Linked DNA regions of Homo sapiens: region 2 is linked to region 1. The links are contacts of gene promoters, found by promoter capture Hi-C in blood cells and fetal thymus (Javierre and others, 2016). All regions are on one chromosome and are shown on one strand. Each heading gives the region's core, a stretch centred on a gene start or on the middle of the fragment in contact. The rest is flanking DNA. Distances are from core to core; before and after follow the strand shown.

Region 1 (4,114 bases), core at 434-2,933:
AACTATCTTGAGTGTGAATATGTATATGCCTTTCTTACAGAGTAAATTTAGCTTGTTTCTTCCAAAGAAATAATCTCCCAAATGGTAATGATATATTATTAAATTACCTTTTCCCCAAACGTTTTAAAAATAATAATCAAGAGATGGTATGTAATGAAGCATCGACGTGGGTAACTCTCAAACTTTATTGTCCTTGTAAAAAGTCTAACCTTTCCAAAACTCATCTGGGCTTTACCATTAAATCTGCGTCATAATTCTAGAGTTTGTCTTTCTTCTCTTTTTGAATAAAAGGTTTCAAAGTACAGCCTATTCGCTGGATCATGAGAATATGTTACTAAGAAGAATCACTTCATCCATGGGAAGCTGCAGTCAGCATTTTAAAGCAACACTGCCACCAGAAGACAAGAAAGAAAAGTAACTACTAACGACTACGGGGCAAGTTAAATACAAAATATTTACCTGGCCTCCCAACGCGGCTACATTACACCCTGCCTACCACCAACTCTTCAGAAAGGCTCATTCTTTCTCGCACCTCATCTTTGTAACTTTTTCCCCCCCAGCATTAGCCTATCTACTAAGACACATCAACCTAAAATCGTATCCTAATGTCCTATCTGTTGGTCTGGGTAGTGTTTACACAGGTGAACACAAATGTCGAAGTCTTTCACTGATTTTTTTTTCAAAATAAGTGATCAACATTGTGTCCTAGTAACTCCGCAACGTGTCACGGAATCGCTGAATTTGTCATTGTCCACAAGTGTAGAAAAATGTGGTCACAAGTCAGTCCTCGGCTCGCGTACGAAGAGGCGGTCTGCCCAGTGGGGACGCGGGACCCCCCTGTTTCCCCTATTTTTATTTATTTTTTACTTTTTTTGAGACAGAGTCTCACTCTGTCGCCCAGGCTGGAGTGCAGTGGCTCGATCTCGGCTCACTGCAACCTCTGCCTGCTAGATTCAAGCGATTCTCCTGCCTCAGCCTCCTGGGTAGCTGGGATTACAGGCGCCCGCCACCACGCCCGGCTAATTTTTGTATTTTTAGTAGAGACGGGGTTGCACCATGTTGGTCAGGCTGGTCTCGAACTCCTGACCTCGTGATCCGCCCGCCTGTGCTTCCCAAAGTGTGTTTCCCCTCTTAAGCAGTGGTTCGGACGGGAGCTTTCCCGGCCCGGCGCTCGCGTCCGGGATTAAAGGGCTGCCGCGGAGGGCGTGACCAGCCCAGCCTCGCCGCCGTCGCTTACCCGGTAGTTGCTCGAACCCACCCAGCCGGTGAGCGCGTCGACTGTCTTGCCTAGGCGGCCCAGGTCCTCCTCCAGGTCCGAGATGGCGCCGGGGGCGCCAAGGTAGAGCAGGAGCTCCTGGCCGACCTGCAGCCGGCCGCCGACGTCCTTCTGCTGCACCTGGGCGCAGAAGTACTCCATGCTGCGGGGCTCCATGGCTGCGGCCGCCCGCCCGCCTGCCAGTCTGTGAGCGGCCAACTTTCGCCGAGAGCCGCCCAGCCTCCAGTGCGGGTCCCCGCGGGAGCGGGCGGGACTCACTTAGCCCGCCAGGGGCGCGGCTTGCGGGGCGCAGCGGGCGGCGGGAGGAACGCCAAGCGCCCAGCCGCCCCCAAACTAGTCAAACTCGGCGCCCCCCGATCCCCAGCCCGCTTCAGAGGCCGCGGCCGCGGGCGACGTCAGCACGCGCGTGACGTCAGCACGACGCCGGCGAGGGCCCTCCAGTCCGGCTAGCGTTTTGCTGCGGAGGTGGTGGAGGTGGCTGCGGAAACCGCTGGGAGCGATAGGACCTCTAGGGAGACTTGGGGTCCGAGTTGGGCCGAGCCCCCTGGGAGGCGGGCCGTTCTTTGCTAGCCGCTGTCAGGGCACCCTGCCCTCGCCCTGTGAAATGTGGAACGTTTCCAAGTTTGCCTCCACTTGTATTCAACACTTAGGAAAGTACTTGGCATCCCCCTTTCCCGCCCCCACTGCCGGTTTAAAAAAAAAAAAAAAAAAGAATACACTCCTGACTTCTGCTTCCAGCCACCACCACAGTCACTGTGTAATACTTAAAAAAACAAAACAAAACAAAACTTAGGTTTGCCTAAAGTAAAACGCACAGATTTTCAGCGTACACTTCATGAGTTTCGGCAAATGTATTCACCCGTGGAACCGCCACCCCAGTGAGGGTACAGCACGTTTCCAACACCCCAGGAAGTCCCAGGACACTTCCCAATTATCTGCTCTTCCCTAGGCAATTCTAATTTGATTTCTAGCATGGTAACATAGTTTTCCCTGTTCCTGAACTTCATACAGTCTGTGCTTCTTTGGAGTCTGGTTTCTTTTAGCATAACGTTTGGGGTCCATCCAGCGCTGTTGGTGTCTCAGAAGTCCATTCCTTTTTATTGCTTTCCATTCTGTGGAATCACTACCATTTGTCGATCCATTCACTTGTTGGTAGATATTTGGGTTGTTTCCTATTTTTTATAATTATGAATAAAGCTGCTACAACGGTTAGTGCACAAGTTTTTGTGTGGATATATTTTCTTCTCTCATGGGTAAATAAATACCAAGGACTGGCATTACTAGGTCTTGTAAGTTGTATGTTTAACTTTAGAAGAACCTGCCAAATTGTTTACCAAAGTGACTGGATCATATTAAATCCCCACCAGCAATGCTTGAGAGTTCCAGTTGCTCCACAATATTTGATATGGTCAGGGTTATTAGTTTTAGCCATTCTGGTGGGGGTAAAGTTGTCTAATACATTCCAAAAGCACACTGTGTTTATCTTCTTGACAATTATTCCCAATCACAACAAAATGATTATTTATGTAATATCTTTCTCTTCTAATACACAGAAAGCTCCAGGAACCTTTGTGTTTTCCTAGGGTGGTGCCTAGCAAATAATGGGTGGCCAATTTAAGTTAAATGAGTGAATGAATTCAACAAAAATTGATATTTGAAATATTCACAATAACTAAGAATAAACAAACTCAAAATTCAAAGAAATTGACTGTTTTCTGTGTTCTTTTTTCAGTATTTCTGTGTTTCACATTGTATTGAGTTTGTAAAGTTTCTTCCATCTTTAATTGGTTGTAATTTCCCTCAGACTATGCCTCAATCAAGTAAACTATGTGTGATGGTTAATTTTATGTGTCAACTTGACTGGGGCAAGAGATGCCCAAATAGCTGGCAAAACATTATTTCTGAGTGTGTCTGTGAGAGAGTTTATGGAAGAGATTATCATTTGAATTGGTGAGCTGAGTAAAGCAGATGGCCCTTCCCAATGTCAGTGGACATCATCCAATTCGTTGAGGCCTGAACAGAACACAAGTGTGGAGAAAGGCCAAATTCACTCTCTCTGCTCGATCGGAAACATCCATCTTTTCCTGCTCTCAAAGATGGGTGCTCCTGGTTCTCAAACTTTAGTATTCAGACAGAAACTTATATCATCAGTCCTCCAATTCTCAGGCCTCCAGACTAGGACTGTATTACACCACCAGGTTTCCTGGTTCTCCAGCTTGCAAACAGCAGACATGAGACTTCTTGCCTCCCTTAACCGTGTGAGCCAATTCCTATAATAATTATCCTCTCATTAGGCCAAGTGCAGTGGTTCACACTTGTAATCCCGGCACTTTGGGAGACTGAGGTGGAAGGATCGCTTAAGCCCAGGAGTTCAAGACCAGCCTGGGCAACAAAGTGAGACCTTGTCTCTCCAAAAATAAAATCAATAAATTAGCCAAGCATGGTGGTGCACACCTGTGGTCCCAGCTACATGGGAGGCTGAGGCAAGAGGATCACTTGAGCCCAGGAGGTCGAGGCTGCAGTGAGCTGTGTTTGTGCCACTTCACTCCAGCCTGGGTGACAGAGCAAGACCCTGTCTCAAAAAAAAAATTAAAAAATTAAAAAAAATGATTCTCCACATATCTATCTACCGGTTCTGTTTCTCTGGAGAACCCTGACTAATACATTATGGTAACTATTCCTTGGGTTTGAGTGTCCAAAGGTTCTGTTCTTAAAGGGTTGCAGAAAGATATAAAAAGAGGATCCTATCCAGAAGAACTTTACACTGTAATTGCTGGTGACCAGGTGCAGTATGTGGTATAGAAAAAAAAAAATGCAGGAGCCCTGGATTCTAGGTTC
Region 2 (4,138 bases), core at 1,529-4,028, 58 kb before region 1:
GAAGAGTTCACTACATACATAGTCAAAGGAAGGCTGAAACTGTTAAGAGTTAAAACCTCCATATATGGACCAGTCTTCCTTAAGAACCTGGCAAAAAAACACTCAAAACATTTTTGAGGAACCTCAGGTTTCCCTTCATACATATCTGTGATGTTGATGTGATTATAAAGTATATCTCTAGGCCTCGTAACAAAAAAAGGTGTAATGAAAAAAGAAAAAAAGCTCAAGTATTAAGTGTTATAATGGAAAATACCAAACACACATTTGGGACCCTAGATTTGGTACTGGTTTGCTTTCTGTGCCTGGATCTGGGACATATTGTCTCAGCAGGTCTCAGTTTCCCAATCTGTAAGATGGAAATACCAAAACACTCTGAACACTTCACAGAGTTGTTCACACCTGAGGAGTTAATATATATTAAGTATACAAAAGTGCTTTGGAGAACTATAATGCCTAATAAGGCATTATAGAAATAATGTGTTTTTAAAATTATCCTTACCAAACTAAAACACTGGCAAAATCAATTTTTAATCAAATTATACCCTGTGCATAATCTTAAAAGGCTAAATATTTTCTAGAAAAATGTTGGGACACTGACAATTAACAATCATATGAATTAAAATAATGCCCATGGCAAGCCATTTTGCTTCTTTAAATATTTTATTTCCACAGAATTCTACTTGTGTCAAATACAACAGGAAGGATATCAAGCTAGCTAGTCAAATCTTCCTGCTAAAATCTGTCATTCCTCCAAAGGCAATGTTCTTCCTCTAAGCTTCTGCACATATTCCACGTTTCTTCCAATATCCCTTCATATCTACCACCAAGACTGAAGCTTGCTTGGGTTGCAAGGTAAATTGTCACCTCATGCTTGCCAGATCCCACACAGACACATCAAGTGAAAAAAGATGTCAAATGACATGCACACACATGCATAAATGTACACACAAGTGTACACACATGCATAAACACACAAGTGTCCTTCATTCTTTAGGGAGAAATATATTTCTTACACAGCAAATGATCGTCACCTTAAAAGGAAGTGTATAACACAAGCAAAAGAAGAAAAATAAATCTTACTCACCATCTCCCATAGCCATTAGATGGTCCAGGGAGCTCTCTGAAACCAAGAGGTCAAATAGCACAGCAAATAAGTACAGCTCAGTGCCTGCGCCACTGGGCTCGGCCTGCAGCCTGCAGACACCCGGAGCACTGTGTGACCCAGGCCTCGCTGCAGCTCTGCACCGCAATAGCCAACAGCTGCTACTCCACTTCAAAATAAAAGTCTGGGGTCTTGCTGAAAACCCTCGTTTATTTAGCACAGCCTAGAAGGACTTGATTAAGATTACTCTTTAGCTGCACATATGCTGTTGGATACAGGTTATGATGTTTCTCCTTGTACTGGCTGCCTGAAATTTAATCTAAGAAAAGCTCTGAGAGCCAATAAATGCCATCCCGCTGGGGGACTTTTAATGCAATCATCAAAACACAAGGCATGTGTTCAGCAATCATTTTCTGCTTCCCTAAAGATATCCATGTAATCAGTAGCAATCACATGATCTGATGGATTAACTGATTTGCGCCTTTTTAAAAAGGTTTTCATCCTTTTGTCGTTACCTTTTAATATTTACAACAGAAGATTGCTAGAAGTGCATAAACAGGAATAGCCCAGTTTCCATGATTAACTGCTCTCATTATGCAGGAAGCATTTCTGGCTGCCGTAAACAAATCACGTCAAAGGCAGCCCATCAAAGGCTGCTCTGTGCGCGGACAGCAGGGCCACACGGAACAAAGCTTACTTCTGGTGGAGACAGAACCTAGCCAATGCGCAGCTGCAGGGGCGCAGAGCACCCTCTATCCAAGCTGACAACCATCAGCACATTGTCAAGCTCTGAAGGCAGGCCCTGGAGCTCATGATCACAAACAGATACATTTTAAAAATCAACCAAAGAAAAGAGCTGCTTTGCTTTTCACCAAAGGGTATGTTATAAAAATATACAAAACTAGACTGGAAGTTATCTTATTGACTCATAGAAGCCAAATATTAAGGTAATTTCAAAGCCTCATTTCCAGGTTTTATTTTATTGCCAGCCTCCAAGAACAATTCTTTTCCTAGCAACTGTTTCAAACAGAGAAGCCAGAAAATACTTTACTAATGATTGCATGGCCAAGACTGCATTAGGTCCTAAACACACACTCGACAAATAAGAATTATGCATAGTTTTTTTCACAGTGAAAGAGAAAAGGATTTGCAATTACAGCCACCAACACTGTTAGTGTTTACATCCTTGGTTTGTGCAGGAGACTGTCTAGAAAGCTCCATAACGACACCAGCGCCTGCCATAATCGCAGGGGGTCTCCAACTTTCAGTCTTTTCTTTCCTACAGGGCTGGTGTTCCCTCCTTCTAGTCACGATCTGACAGATTTTAAATCCAGTTTTCTTCTAACAGCAGAGCTAATTCTACTGCATTTAGGGACTCTGCCTAACTTACTTTTACAATATAACAAGTTGAGTTCAAAAAACCATCAAATACTCTATAACTCACTTAATGACTGTTCAGATGACAACTTTTAGCTATAAAAAAGTTATATCACCTTTACAACAAATCCTTTGGTTTCTTGTATTTAGTAAAATGATTTTTTTCATCACGAAACACTCTAAATCAATATGCTGTAAGATGTATGATGTGTCATTATTATGGTTTCAGGCAAAGACACACCAAAAAATTTTGTTTACCATAATAGTTTCTGGTCACAGAATATCAGGTGGAACAAATTTGAATTGCGTGCCATTTTTGGACAGACCCAAAACAATTTATTTTGCATAAATGCACCAAGTGAGGGAGAGAAAAGGTAGTATCTTCAACAGCTCTTTGTGTGCATGAACTATTTCCACAAGATTTCATGCCGAGCCTTTACTCTGTCCTAAAATGTTTTCCTGTTTCTATCACTTTATTTACAGTTTTAGTTTTAGTTTTAGTGTGCAATAAAAATGAATCAACAAAGGCCTGAAAATTTTGTGGGGAAAAATTGTGCAGAAATAAAGAAGAAGTTGAATTAAACTCCATGATATTACTTCATGTACAATTTCCCTTCAAATTGTTACTTATAAAAATTTGTTTTCAGTATTCAATTGATATATTTTTCTACCTGGGAAAACTACTCAAGTATCATGGGCTGGGATGAAACACACCGTAATTTTTCTCATTAACACTGGTGAAAATAATTTTTTCATCTAATGGTCTTTCACTTGGCAGCAGGGTATTTAGGAATAATTTAAACTCATTAAACAAGGAGTAGTTATATTTCCTCCATTACCAACTGTAACCACATTGTATATCCATTTATTTACTTGTTTATGATCTATCTCCATCACTAGATTATAGGCTCCTTAAGGGGAGAAATTTCATTATCTTCTTCCTGTTGTGACATGATCTAATTTACATTTTAAGAAGATCCCTATGATTTCTGAGTAGCAAATGGATTCCTGGGGGCAAACATGGAACAGAAGTCTACAGAAGTAGTCCAGGCAAAAGCTAAAGGAGATTTAGAGAGGATATTAGCAGTGGAGATGGAAAAAATAAGCAAATTTGGGATATGTTAGTATTTCAGAAGTAGAAATGTTTGATCAGTTAGAATAGGAAATCAAGTCAGGTTTCTAGCTTGAGCTGATGATGGTGCCACTGACTAAAATGGCTAAGACTGGAGAAGGAACAGATCTGAGAGGCAAGAAAAGATAACAGGGTTTCATTTTTGGACATAGGAAGCTTGAAATGCCTATTAGGCAGCCAAATGGGAACGTCATCAAGGCCACAGGCTAACAAGTCTAGACCTAACCCAAAGGAGAGATGAATGATGGCTAGACCTACATACTGGGAATCATTAGCAAAGAGTTATCATTTAAAGCCTTTGAGTGGGGTTGGATCACTAAGAAAGAGAGAATAAAAACAGGGAAGAGGAGGCCTGGGCCCTGGGATTTTCCAACGTGATAAATAGGTTTCCTTCTTCTAGCATCCTCTTGTTAATTAATTCATTAAGGAATTTTTCAGTGACAGCATATTATCATCAAAAACATTATGACCAATATGACTTTAACTTTCACATTTGACCATACTTGCAATATTCAGACTGTAATCAT

What was found. Contacts are between HindIII fragments. The CHiCAGO score rates a contact against its expected background, and 5 or more counts as called.
Region 2: a fragment that was not itself captured here is called in contact with the fragment with the promoter of CLASP2 in region 1 in 3 of 17 cell types (monocytes, M2 macrophages and naive CD8 T cells); the score reaches 5.8 in monocytes.

The regions. Positions count from the first base shown.
Region 1 is chr3:33,716,571-33,720,684 of GRCh38, forward strand. It overlaps CLASP2 (cytoplasmic linker associated protein 2), which reads right to left and starts at 1,684. Exons shown (of 39, transcript NM_001365631.1): 1 at 1,238-1,684. The coding sequence starts at 1,432. RefSeq lists a silencer at 1,416-1,755 and an enhancer at 1,956-2,045. The HindIII fragment of the contact is 12,344 bases long and covers 1-4,114 here.
Region 2 is chr3:33,657,890-33,662,027 of GRCh38, forward strand. All of the region lies in intron 7 of CLASP2 (cytoplasmic linker associated protein 2), which reads right to left. Among named protein-coding and RNA genes, the nearest start is that of CLASP2, 58 kb to the right of the region's middle. RefSeq lists an enhancer at 1,478-1,527. The HindIII fragment of the contact is 1,973 bases long and covers 1,793-3,765 here.